2 separate regions of the Homo sapiens genome follow, and region 2 is linked to region 1. The links are contacts of gene promoters, found by promoter capture Hi-C in blood cells and fetal thymus (Javierre and others, 2016). All regions are on one chromosome and are shown on one strand. Each heading gives the region's core, a stretch centred on a gene start or on the middle of the fragment in contact. The rest is flanking DNA. Distances are from core to core; before and after follow the strand shown. Region 1 holds the start of CCT8 (chaperonin containing TCP1 subunit 8). Region 2 overlaps GRIK1 (glutamate ionotropic receptor kainate type subunit 1).

The links. Contacts are between HindIII fragments. The CHiCAGO score rates a contact against its expected background, and 5 or more counts as called.
Region 2: a contact is called between a fragment that was not itself captured here and the fragment with the promoter of CCT8 in region 1, in 3 of 17 cell types (naive CD4 T cells, M2 macrophages and M0 macrophages). The highest score is 6.3, in naive CD4 T cells.

What each region holds. Positions count from the first base shown.
Region 1 is chr21:29,069,180-29,076,134 of GRCh38, reverse strand. CCT8 (chaperonin containing TCP1 subunit 8) reads left to right here and starts at 2,487. Exons shown (of 15, transcript NM_006585.4): 1 at 2,487-2,604; 2 at 5,798-5,888; 3 at 6,633-6,712. The coding sequence starts at 2,545. RefSeq lists enhancers at 1-715, 2,262-2,431, 1,592-2,503, 2,882-3,051, 2,504-3,415. The HindIII fragment of the contact is 10,437 bases long and covers 1-4,163 here.
Region 2 is chr21:29,832,795-29,839,749 of GRCh38, reverse strand. All of the region lies in intron 1 of GRIK1 (glutamate ionotropic receptor kainate type subunit 1), which reads left to right. Among named protein-coding and RNA genes, the nearest start is that of GRIK1-AS1, 88 kb to the right of the region's middle. RefSeq lists a silencer at 6,002-6,202. The HindIII fragment of the contact is 805 bases long and covers 2,130-2,934 here.

The DNA of each region.
Region 1 (6,955 bases), core at 1,238-3,737:
AAAAGGCCCTACGTAATACCATCACTTCAGGGCCTAAGATTTTAACATGAATTTTGGAGGGACACAAACATTGAGACCACAGCACCTTAATTCTTCGATCTCCTCTTCTGGATATCCATTTGGTCACCCAGTAGTTCATTTGATGATGATTTATTGACTCCTTACTCCGTGCATTGTCCAATTACAGTATAAGTGCTGGTGATTCACCACCTACCTGCTGGTGGAGAAAGATGACAAATAATTCTGTCATTACAACTGTGGTAAGTGCTATGAAGGAGAAACACAGAAGCTATGAGAATGACAAACAGGGAATGTCTTGGGAGTCATCAAAGACTTTCTAATGAAAGTGTCTGCATACTGAGGTAGAATTAATTCAGCCATAAGGGAATAGAAGAGCATTTTAGGTAGGAAGAACAGCAGAGGCAAAGACCCTGAGGCAGAAGTGGTAAAGCAGACAGCACGAACTATTCCAGGTACTGGGGCCAGAATACAAGACATTAATGCCAAATGGAGAAGATACCAGTGAGACAAGGACCAGAACCTAGGCCTCAAAGTCACTTTAAATATAGATTAATATATATTAATATGTTAATCAGGTGTCATTTTAGCTCCTTTCAGTTTTATTTCAATTTTATTTTGTGTTAGCTATTTTTATAAGTAATATTATCTCTGAGTCAGAGGAATGTGCTTTTGTTTATTTCTTAGCTAATCCAGGAAAAATCTTGGATTGTTCTGTTGTTCGGGACTGATCATTACAGTAGTTCTCTAACGTATCAGTCTCAGAACACCTTTAGACTCTTAAAAATTAACTTCCCCAAAGGTCTTTTGTTTATGTGGGTTATAGGTATGAATATTTGCTATATTAGAAATTAAAACTGATAAATTTTTAACGTTATTTAAAAAATAATAATCCTATCACATGATAATATGTATGTTTTTATTTAAAATATCTCTATTTTCCAAGAATGAAAAGGGTGGCTGTATTAGTCCGTTCTCGAATCGCTATAAAGAACTACCTGAGACTGGGTAATTTATAAAGAAAAGAGGTTTAATTGGCTCACAGTTCCACAGGCGGTACAGGAAGCATGGCTGGGGAAGCCTCAGGAAGCTGACAATCAAGGTGGAAGGTGAAGGGGAAGCAGACACATCCTACAAGGCTGGAGGAGGAGGAAGAGACAGAGTGGGGAGGTGCCACACACTTTTAAACAACCAGGTCTTATGAGAAGTCACTCACTATCACAAGAACAGCTGGGGATTATAATTCCACATCATATTTGGGCAGGCAATTCAAACATATCAGTGGCATTTACATTTTTGCAAAAATCCAAACCATATCAGTGGCATTTACATTTTTGCAATTTTTTTTTTTTTTTGAGACAGGGCCTCACTCTTGCCCAGGCTGGAGTGCAGTGGCATGATCTCAGCTCACTGCTGCCTCAACCTCCCAGGCTCAAGCAGATCCTCCAACCTTAGCCTCCCAAGCAGCTGAGACTACAGGTGCATGCCACCAAGCCAAAGGGATTTATATTTATCTATAAATTCATATATAAATCAGATATATTTATATAAAATGTGTATATTATATATATAAATCAGATAAATAAATATGTATTTATATCTGATCTTAAAAGAGTAAAAGGGATTTATATTCCCAGGAAGAAGTAGAAAAGAGGAATATAGATAGTGGTTAAGAACCGGCATTTTGCAATAAGTCTGATCTAGATAGGAATTCTAGCTTTAATATTTACTAGCTCTGTGATCTTGGGAAAATTATTTACAGTTTGTGAACTTCAGTTTCCCTTCTACAAAATAGAGACAGTACCATTTAATTTTTAATTTTTAATGGTATCGTCTCCATTTTATGGAAGGAAAACTAAATGGTATTTTAACCGACAATTCATTAATTTTTAAGACTGACCATTAACAGAGATACTGCATGTAAAGCAGATCACACAGAATATGGCACACTTGAGCACTTGATGTGTACTACATTACTCTTAGTGACGACTTTAATTATCGTGCGCATTCCCAGCGCTTCCTATGGTGCCCAACACAGAGCGGACGCCTAGAGACAATTTTGGGGGATGGGGCAGATGCTCTGCCTCGGGAAAAAAAAAGCACACCTGCCCTGACGTTGGTGGCTGGGTCTGGAAGATACGTGGAAATTAAGCTAAGGATGTGTGGCTTCCAGATCAAAAACCGCAAAAATCTAACGCCGTGACTACTGACTACGGTCAGAGAGCACAGACTGGAGCAACCTCTCACGGCCTGGGCTGTCTGCGCGTGCGTGAGCCAGAAACCCGAGGGGCTCCCTGGGCCCGCCCTATCGATCGACCCGATCGGGGATCGTCAGCTTGGTTCTGGCCACAGAGGTTGCTCTTCTCGCGATGCTTCAGACCTGGCGGCAGGGAAAGGGTGGGCTAATTGGAGAGCCAGGAAGAGCGTGAGGCGGCCCCACGCTGCTTTCCCAGAAGGCTGTGCGTGCTCCTCGCTTCCTCCGCGGTCTTCCGAGCGGTCGCGTGAACTGCTTCCTGCAGGCTGGCCATGGCGCTTCACGTTCCCAAGGCTCCGGGCTTTGCCCAGATGCTCAAGGAGGGAGCGAAAGTAAGGGCTGAAGGAAAGGAATGAGGTGGGAGCGTCAGCATAGGGCTGCGGCGGCCGCGGCGAAGTAGGAGGGCCTACTAACGGGCTGAGCGTGCTGCCCTGGCTCAGCGGCCGGGGGAAGAGAAGATTCCAGAAAGGGAGGTGATTTTGGAAGGGCTCGGCCACCGGAGCCTGCGGGCACTTCTCTTCTTCCGCGACCGGGAGAAGGCCGAGGGATCGGCGGCACGATCGACATTGTACACCTTGAAGGTGGACGGATGTGAAGCCGCGCGTGCGTTTTGCCTCCATCCGTAAATGGGGCTAAGGCCCGTCACCCTTAAAGGAGGTTGTGAGGGTGAAATTGAATAACGTAGATGAAATTGTCTTGAGAACTGCGACGTCGATTATCACATAGCTCGCGAGTTGTAGGATGGGGAAGAACGAGAACTAGCCGATCCAGAGAAGAGAGTGGGAAAAAGGGCCGGGTCTTGGTTGCTTGCTTCCCAGTGAGAAACATACGGCTTTCAGCTTAGTTGACAGAAGCCATGCGTTGTAGCCAAATGAGTTCCGGTCCCAACTTATGTTAGCTGGCTTAATCTAAAATGTAACTTTCTTGGGTTTTGTTTCCTTCGTCTTTAAATTATGGAGATTGGACCAAGAGGTGGTGTCTTTGAGTTCTGTGTAATCTGCAGGATAAGTGATAGAGGGGTGCAGATAACACTTTTGTTTAATGGCCTTTTCTTGAACGTTAGTTCGGTAGCATAGTTTTAAAAAATATCTTACTGCACTATTGATAAATTTGTCTCTTGTGCTATTCAAATTGCATTCCTCTGTGTGTCCTCCAGATTTTGTTAATTCAAGAAATAGATCAGTGTGGTTGAATTTAAGGTTTTATGCGAGGTACGGGGAGCATTAACAGTTTAATAGAACTAGGTTCATGTTTGTAGGATGCACTTTTCAAATAATGTCGGTATAGTAAGTAAATGTCAGGGTTCAAGGTAAATGTTGGTGGAATAATCTTTTGAAAATGATATGGGCTGATTCCCTTGAAAAAATCAGGCTGAGATAATAGCTTCCAATTTGGGTTTTTTTCACTAATACAGTTTTGGAAAACTCGTGTATCACAAAACATTATTTGTCATTCCAGTGCTAGTAGTTTTTTACAGAACACTGAGCTATTTCTTTCAATAAATAGGTACTGAAGGAACTGCAGTGAAAGACAAAAGTCCCATTTGTCGTAGAGTTTATGTCCTTCTAAGGCAGAAATAATGATTAAATAAAAGGAGAATTCCAAATAATGATGAAAGAAACTGCACTATAGTAGAGGATGACAGGAGGTAAAAATGTCTGTAAAAGAAGGATCAGGAATAGACAGAACACTTAGACGTTTAGGGAAGAACTCTTAGCTCAGTGCTTAGTGAGAGAAGCCCCTGAGCCTGGGCTGTTTCCCCCGACCTCTTACTTAGGGGGAAATGCCAGGCTCAGGGACTAACTAGTACAAAGACCCTGAGGAAGGAATGATTTTGACCTGTTTTTTTTTTAAAACAACAACAACAACAACAGGTTGTAGGGCTGAAGCTTACCAAAGAAAGGAAGAATGGTAAGTTCAGAGGAGGAGCCATACAAGGGCCGGGATACGTAGGGCCTTGTTTCCTTGAAAAGGGATTTGCATTTTATCCTAAGCTGGTTGGGAAACCATTGAAGGGTCTTAAGTATGGGAATGAGGGGATCTGATCAAATGGTAGTTTCTCACAGAATGGGGAGTGAGGGGAAGAAGCAAGAGTGTAAGCCAGGAGTTCAGACTTAAGTGTTATTGCTGGAATAACAGTTCTTATTGCTGAAGATGCTTTTAAAGCAGTGGCTATTGGCAGGGGTTGGTGGCTCACACCTGTAATCCCAACACTGGGGAGGCCGAGGTCAGTGGATCACTTGAGGCCAGGAGTTCCTGGCCAACATGGTGAAACTCCGCCTCTCAAAAAAATACAAAAAAAACCAACCTGGTGTGGCGCGCACCTCTAATCCCAGCTACTCAGGAGGCTGAGCCTCCAGAATTGCTTGAACCCGGGAGGCCCAGGTTGCAGTGAGCTGAGATCGTGCCACGATCTCAGCTCACTGCACTCCAGCCTGAGCGATAGAGGAGACTCTCTCTCTCTCAAAAAAGAGTAATGGCTATTAACCTTGGTTTTGGATCACAAAATCATGGCTTGTATTGTAAAGCAGTACTATGTAAATAGAACTTTTTGCAGTGCTGGACATACGCTGTATCAGCGCTGTCCAGTGTGATATTCACTACCCACATGTAGCTACTGGGCATTTGAACTGTGGCTCCTGCAATTGAGGAACTGAATTTTTTAATTTTAATTACTTGAAAGTTTATTTTGATTGCTTTCACTAGCCCCATGTATGTAGCTAGTGGCTACTGTATTGGGCAGCGCTTCTCTAAAGAAATGTTCTCATGCACAGTAGATTAGTGAAATATATCTGAGGACCCAAGTAAACCTCAACTCTAAAAAAGTCCAGTGTAGAATTTGTGAGAATTTTTAGTACCGTGAGCAGTTCGCTTTTCAATACATATACATTGGGATAATGTTGCAATTCAAAAAAAGTATTCAGTCTCTAAACACTTCAGTGGCACATACTTAAAGAACTTCTGGCTTTACAAAAGCCCAGATTCTAACACAATAAGAATATTCCACATTTCAACAGTTAGTTAGAAAATACTGATAAATTCTGGAAAGGTATTCTACTTGAAGTACCTCATACCCTTTCTCTAATTAGTCTTAGCATGGTTCCCTGTACTTTTCACTACTTTTAATAAAAAAAATTTTAAGTCTTTTGATGTGTAAGTAGGTACCTGCGGTCCCCCAAAATGTTATACTTTATTCATTCAACTAGAGAGGAAATGTATGCATCATTTATGAATATCAAATGCTGTGTTTTACATTAAAAAATCTTGTTTGATTGTCTCAACAATCCTATGAGTTAGGTACTATTATAATTACTTCATTTTATAATGAAGAAATGTTAAGAAAATTGCCCAAATTTAAAAAGAGCCAGAAAGCTAAGATTTGCAACCAGCCCTCTTGTGCCAAATACCTAAGCTATGCTCCCTCTTTATTAGAGGCAAGATATAAGCAAAGATATCTTGTATTTGAAATTTTTGTTTCACTGTCCTGTCTAATTAGCGGGGTTTTTTGTTTGTTTTTTTTAACAGCACTTTTCAGGATTAGAAGAGGCTGTGTATAGAAACATACAAGCTTGCAAGGAGCTTGCCCAAACCACTCGTACAGCATATGGACCAAATGGTAATTTCTAAATTAATATTTGTAAAGATACAGTAGTAGAATATTGTGTACTACGTCTTCTTTCAGACTTGTTCTGAGGATGTTATGGTATGACTTCGGAAGTTAATTTGATAGCTCAATGATAGTTCATTTCCAATTTTTAGTTATTTCTAATTTTCAATCAACTCACATCTCTTTAGAAAAATGGGGGTCAATATATTACTTTTTATCCTGTTGAGAGGATAGAAAAATTATAACACTTTGACTAGTAAGATAGTACCTAATGTTCATTCTGACAAACACTAAATATAAAAGTGACATAGTTTAAGGAAGAAAATTCTCTCCTTCCTCTTGCCTTCTACCACCAATTAAATTTAAATGATACAGTTTCATGGAATAAACATACAACTAAATATACTAAGTAGATTATTTTGGCCTTTTTACATGTTAATTTCTGTTGAGCACTTGCTGCATGACAGTCATGTTGCAAACAGAAGATAGAAATTGGCAAAAATGTGAGATTTGGCATCTTACGTAGTAAATATTGTAGGACATTAGAAAGGGAAGAAAGAATATGGGTCTGCAGTCAGAGAATGCCCATGGGGCTATAAGATAAACTTGAAGAATAGATAGTATGTGTTTTCTTGCAAAGCTCTTTTTTTAATATACAAATTTATAATTTCTTAACTAGATTTTCCTGGGTATTTGGGGAAGGATTTGATTAATAATGGCTTTCTTTTTCTTTTTTTAACTGTTACTTTTGAGGAATGAACAAAATGGTTATCAACCACTTGGAGAAGTTGTTTGTGACAAACGATGCAGCAACTATTTTAAGAGAACTAGAAGTAAGTTGTTTCTTTAAAAAGTCAAGAAATATTTTGGTGACATCAAAATTAAGTAGATTTTAACTAGAAGAAATCTCTTATTTCAGATTGGATAAGGGACTATTTTTCCAGCTTGAAAATTTATTGTACAGATTGTTCTAATTATAAAGAGTCCTCTTTAGATTGAATGTTTTAGCCACTGAAATCTTAAAAATCTCTCAAGTTATTAATTTATGGAGGGATTGGTTGTGATACATTGCTAAT
Region 2 (6,955 bases), core at 1,283-3,782, 760 kb before region 1:
CTAAATTCTTCTAGAACTGCAAAACCCACAAAGTATTGTCTTACTCCAGATATGGTCTGAACAAATAAGTGGGACTATCACTTTCTGCATATTAGAGTAGGATTTTTGCATTTGTCCCCATAACATCTCAATAGTGATTCCACCTAAATTTACTATCAGCTCAAATCCCTAAGTCATACACATGCTACCAAGTCTCACTTTTTCCCTTTTGTAACTGTCTTATATTTTTTAATCCAAGAATGGGATCTCACAATTATCATTGAAATTCTAGACTATCAATATAGTCTACCAAAAATTTTATATTCTAATTCTTTCATTCCATGTTATCTGTTAGTTTTACAAATATTTTGAGTAACTTTATGGACAAAGCCTTTACTCAAATTACAACTAGAAATTCCCTGGCCAGGCATGGTGGCTCATGCCTGTAATCCCAGCACTTTGGGAAGCCAAGGAGGGTGGATCACTTGAGGTCAGGAGTTTGAGACAAGCCTGGCCAACATAATGAAACCCTGTCTCTACTAGAAATACAAAAATTAGCCAAGCATGGTGGCATGTGCTTGTAGTCCCAGCTACATGGAAGGCTGAGGCAGGAGAATCGCTTGAACCTGGGAGGCGGAGGTTGTGGTGAGCCAAGATCGCACCACTGCACTCTGGCCTGGGCAACAGAGTGAGACTCTGCCTCAAAAAAAAGAAAAGAAAAGAAAAGAAATCCCTATAGTATGATATTTATTCATTAATTTGTACTCTTCAAGTATAGTAGCTTACTTCGTTTAATAATTTGCCTAAATTCCTTTTTTTTCCATCTTGTCCACCAAATAGTGAAAAGGTATGTCAGATTCCTTCATACAATTTAAGCACCACCAAATAAATTTCTGTGATCTGTGAGGTTAGTAACTTGTGACAAAGAAAGTGATGAATCTTGTTTTCATGTTTTCTTTTTTCAGGCAAACCATGCTAGATCTTTGTAACTGTTATTTTATTACAAGAGATTACAGGACATTCTTTAATAATTTTAGAGTCTCTGCTGTAATCAGTATCAAACTCAGAGCTTTGGCTTGTAAAATCCACGTTATTTTGCTGAAAACTAGATAGTGATTTGCCCTTCACCAGTCTTCTATTATTTGCTGTGATTTCTCTTAGACCTACTAGTTCTGCTGTTTCTGAAGTCTTGCAGGCAGGCAATATCTTTGAGTTCAACCCAGTTAAACTAGGAGCCAGAACTCCCGGAGAGCAGCAGAAGAGTGAGTAGGGGCAGGAGTCACTTACAACTTCTTAATCCATCATGGATTTCAGTTCCCACTTACTAATAACTGTTTCACCTTTTGAGTTTTTTTCAGTACAAACAAGATGGAAGCTAAATGGCCAATGAGGAATCTTTTTTTTTTCTGTGATATCCGTCTTCATTGAAGTTCTTCAGAGAGCTTTAGTACTCTTCATAGTTTAAAATACAAAACTATCTTCTTGGTTGTCCAATTCAGTTTCTGCAGCCCCCAGTTGGTTAGAACTTTGACTTCCAGCACTCCTCCTATGGGCTTCTATGATACTATATTCGCTACTGAATCAAGGGCTGATTCCTCTTATCCTATTATGGACCCAATGAGCTTTTAATGCAGAAATTCTTTGAATGGGTCTTTTGCAAACCTGCTTATTAATTTAAGAAGTTTCCTCTTTTCTCCTTTATTGAAATCATTTAGAAACATATAGATAAAATTTCACTTTTAACTTTTTGAACCATCTTCCTCTTCAGATTCTTAGTGTATAATCAAACCTATTCCCTTTCCAAAATTATGAAATTTGCATTTCTACTTAGAATACTGGAAGGTGGATTTTAGTTTTCCCAGAAATATAAAGTTTCTTGGGGCAAAATATAGAATACTGGGGGCTTCTCCACACTCGGGGCTTTGGAAGCCACACTGTATAAGACTATTGTGTGTTTTTACCCAAGTACCACTAATGTGGAACAGTGGCACTGTTTACTAAACGGTAAGTTTTTTATATTCTAAATCTTATGATCACAGTGGGTCTGCTTTAAGTTTGATATATTTATAAACAAATGTATTTTCTTCTGGTTTATTCTTCATATATTCTAAAATATTTAGATTTAAATATGAACTATATGCTCATAAGCTTGGCTGACTCTAGCAAAAAGTAGTCTTCTATAGGAAAATTGTCTTTGTTTCCCAGACTTCTCTTTGCTGTCATTCCCCCCCATTGGTGGTTGCCTAGTCCTCCTATTCTTCAGTTTCTCAGTGCTCTCATAGTCCTGCCTCCTGTGACTCTAACTCAATATAATCACATATTTATTATATTCACAATGAGTTATAAATATCTAGAAGTTGTTCTTCCCTGGACATAACTATGTTAAGAAGCATCAGATGCTGCTAAAGGCTTTCGGAAGAGAAATGAGGAAGTTCATTGTCAATCACTCATTTATTCTTTTACTCAATAAACACTTGTAGAGCCTCCCCTATGTGCCAAAACGGTGTCAGGAAACACAAGATCATTGCAGATGAAGTTCCTGAACTCTAACAACTCTCCTTGTAGGAGAGAGAGATACCAGAAAATATAAGGGGTGTGAAAACCAGAAAAGATTAATTTTGAATTACAATTTCAGCTTAGCTATCCAAAAAACGATTACATCCCATTCAGAAAAGCATGTGAAAAGGGTATGAACTAGCATTTCAGATTTTGAAGACTGCATCAGGGTGTACTTACGGTGAAGGGTCCCAAGTGCCAAAGCAGCTAGAGAAAAAGCAGGTGCTGGATCATGAGGGACTTTATGCCTAAGGTGAGAGTTGGACTTTATCTCTAAAACTGTGGGCAATATCTAAAGCATAATTTTCTTGGCTCCTAGAGACAAAATGTAGGTGGCTTCTTCTTTCCTCTCAGCCCCCATTTTAATAGAAGAGAATTTTGAAAGAAGATAACTAAGCTTTATACTTCTACACTATCAATGAAATTACATTTTTTAGCATTAAGAAAGGTATGGACACGTTAGAATTTAATGTAATATTTGTCTGATTTCTCATGATGTGAGATTTGTGGGCTTATGATAGTGTCTGTGTAAATATATATATATATGCAACATTACACATGTATATGTGTGCATTATCTATTAAATATATACTTATCAAAATATCCAACTTTCATGTTTATAAACTTATAATTCACAGGCAACAATGGCAAATCAGAGTGGATCTTATTTTTAATCTGCCTAGCAGAAAATTTATTTAGTATATGTTTTACTATAATTATCCTAATAATTGTTCCACTGTACATAGGGACTTTTCCCAGAGTTGAGTAAATTGGTTAGGAAATAAAAGGAGCTATACTGCATAAAAATAACCTAAAATTAACATCTGCAAATAAGCCAGGGGACGTGTGTCTGTCTCTGTGTATCATAAGCATTTCTAGAGACTGATCATCTGACTTAGTACTTTTACATAGCTATCCTTTCCCTACTTGGCCCCAAGAGAATGTTATTTCTCATGATTGGTTTATCCATTGTATTAAAACAGAAAGAAATAATACAATTTTCTCTTAAATTTCCCAGTGCCTCAGTTCAATTTCCTGCTGGTAGATTTCTGCTTTCTTTTTATATCTAAGAAATTATACTCTTTACTTTACAAAGGACAGTGCACTGACCGACTGAAATGAATGTGCTTGTAATAGAACAGTGGGCAGCAGCCTGCCAGGCTTGGTGAAGAGTGCAGCCTGCTATTGCTTTCCAAGGAACAGTTTCTCCCACAGCTTTCTTTCACCAAAGTGTGTCTATTGCCATCAAGTCAGAAAGGAATGAATATTTGCGTGGTTGGGGAAAACAAACCTGCTGTTGAGGAACAGGTTACTTTAAGCCGGAATTATCTAATCAGACTGTACCAAAATCACCAAGCAATTGCTAGCTCTGGACTTAGCTTTTATAAAGCAACGACAAAATGAGTTAATAAGTTAAAAAAAATAGAGGAAATAATCATTATTGCCCATTGGGTTATTCTGAAATATGGCTTCTTCAGCAAACAACAGGGCAAAAGTATATTATCTGTGTTTAGGGCCCAAGACCAGATGGATTTATAGGATATAAAATATAGCCTTAAAGATCCCGAGAGGTTTGAAGCCCCAGAATTCCTCCCTGCACTGACTGTTTTAATACCCTAAAATGTCCTCAACAAATGATCAGTTGTTTGGAGATGTGCATTATGGGATTGTGGGATTCAGAGGCTCTAGCAAACTCTTGAAACAACTGTGTTTTCCACAAGGTTTTGATGAGTGGATTTGATGAACAGTCTCAGAGCAATATAAAAGCATGTGAGAAACAAAGAAAAAAGACCAGAGACAAAGAAACAAGACCAGTTATGTTAGGACTTTAACCCAGAGCTAGTGCTCCTGGGGCCACGCCTCTCAAAAAACTTCTGCCATTTCCCACTTTTCCGACCTGCCCCAGGCAGAGGATCTAGCCACCAGCAGAAGAACTAAGTGAGCAGATTAATGCCAGGGGATGCTGCTGGGTGCTGCAGGCTAGTAGGGTAGGTAAGTCCCCATGAAATTTCAGAAAGATTTGTAGGAGGCTTACAAAAGTACACAAAATACAAACACTGTTGAGTTGCAAGTGAATCAAATCAAGAAAGAAAAATAATATTGAGTTAAGTGCGGTCCAGAAGAAGCCTAAACAGAGGACATTAGCATGTGTGGATTGCTACCTGGAGCATTAGTGATCAGAAAGAGCATAGTAGAAACGCTATGCCCACAGGAAGACTGAGTGTGAAAATCAGAAGAGCCAAACCTGTGCTAAAGACCAGAGAAAGAGAAAGTAAGACAAGAGTGAGAATAATAATGATACAAAAAACCCTCCAGTACTAATAATTAATATTAATTAATATTGAATAAATAAAATAATATTCAATTGTAATATTGAATAAATAAAATAATATTCAATATTAATATTGAATAAATAAAATCATTAATATTGGATGAATATTAATTAATATTAATAATATTAATACTAATGCCAGAAATGTGCTAAGCAATTAATATATGTTAACTCATTAAACACTTTCAAGAACTATGATGTATAATTTTTATTGCTATGTTATATATTAGAAAGCTGAGAGGTGAAGAAGTTTCGGGGTAGAGTATGCTGCCAGAGCCATGATTTGAATCCAGCTCTGCCAGAATTCAAGGCCCATGCTCTTTATCACTCTTAGACAGCCAAGTAGGAAGTGAAGGCCAAGTAAACAGAAGAATGACCAAGAAGTGAAGAACAAAGTGGGGGGTGAAGGAAGCAGATCCATCAGTTTCTCTAGTATATTTTCACTGATGGTTAGTAGTGGTAATGGGTTATAGTGCAGAAGAATAATCTCTTCTATTATCTCGATAACCATCATTTTACATATATAATATATATGTAATACATAAATATATATATTTTTATATATATATAAGAATATTGCCACTTCTGTTTAATAGTTTTCAAAAAATAAATTTCCTTCCAAGTTCCTATTTTGGGAGAAATTAATGTATTTGCAACCGAGGGTAGTAAAAATGATCAAATTATTGTTCTAAAAAAATACTAAAACTGCAAAAATACTTGGTCCTCAAAATTTAGGATAATACTATCTGATTTCCCTAATGTATCTCTCTTTCAATTCATTCACTTCTTTCTTCAATAAACCTACCTTAAGAGTTTACTATGTGATAGGTTTGCAATAAACCCTTTGTAATGCAAAAGACTAATACATTTGTATACAATTATATAAAGCACTTTACTTGAAATTAATTTTATACATAAAATTGTATTTATGTGTATGTTATGTATATGTTCAAATCAGGGCTGCCATAAATGCCATGGAGAAGTTCATGGTGCTGTGAAAGCATGGAGATTCTCCATATTCATGGCAGTTAAGAAATGGTTTCCAAGGGGAGTGGTGTGTGCTGTGAAATCTGAAGGATGCCTGGGAGCCACCTTGTTGAGAGAGTGTGTGTGTGGTGTGTGTATGGGTAGGGGGTGATATGGTTTGGATTTGTGTTCCTGCTCAAATCTCATGTTGAAGGAAGGGCCTGGTGGCAGGTGATTGGATCATGGAGGTAGACTTCCCCTTTGCTGTTCTGATGACAGTGAGTGAGTTCTCATGAGATATGCTTGTTTATAAATGTGTAGCACCTACCCTCCATCTCTTTTCCTCCTTCTCCAGCCATGTAAGATGAGCTGCTTCCCCTTTACCTTCTACCACAATTGTATGGTTCCTGAGGCCTCTCTAGCTATGCTTCCTTTACAGCATGCAAAACTGTGAGTCAGTTAAACCTCTTTTCTTTATAGGTTACCCAGTCTCAGATGGTTCTTTACAGCAATGAGATAACTGACTAATACAGAAAATTGGTACTGGGAGTGGGGCATTCTTATAAAGATACCCAAAAATGTGGAGGTGACTTTGGAACTGGGTAATGAGCAGAGGTTGGAAAAAAGTGGAAGGCTTAAAAGAAAACAGGAATATGAGGGAAAGTTTGGAACTTCCTAGAGACTTGTTGAATTATTGTGACCAAAATGCTGATAGTAATATCATCAATGAAGTCTAGGCTGAAAAGGTCTTAGATGGAGATGAGGAACTTATCAGGAAGTAAAGCAAAGGTCACTTTTCTTATGCATTAGCAAAGAAGTTGGAGGCATTGTGCCCCTACCCTAGAGATCTATGGAACTTTGAACCAGAGAGTGATGATTTAGGATATCTGGCAGAAGAAATTTCTAAGCAGTAAAATGTTCAAGAAGTGACCTGGCTGCTTCTAGCAACCTATGTTTGTCTTTGTGAGCAAATAAGTGATCTGGAACTGGAACTTATATTTTAAAGGGAAGCAGAGTATAAAAGTGGAAAATTTGTAGCCCAGCCATGTGGTAGAAAAGAAAAACCCATTTTCTGGGAATGAATCCAGGCGAGTTGCAGAAATTTGCATAACTAAAAAGAAG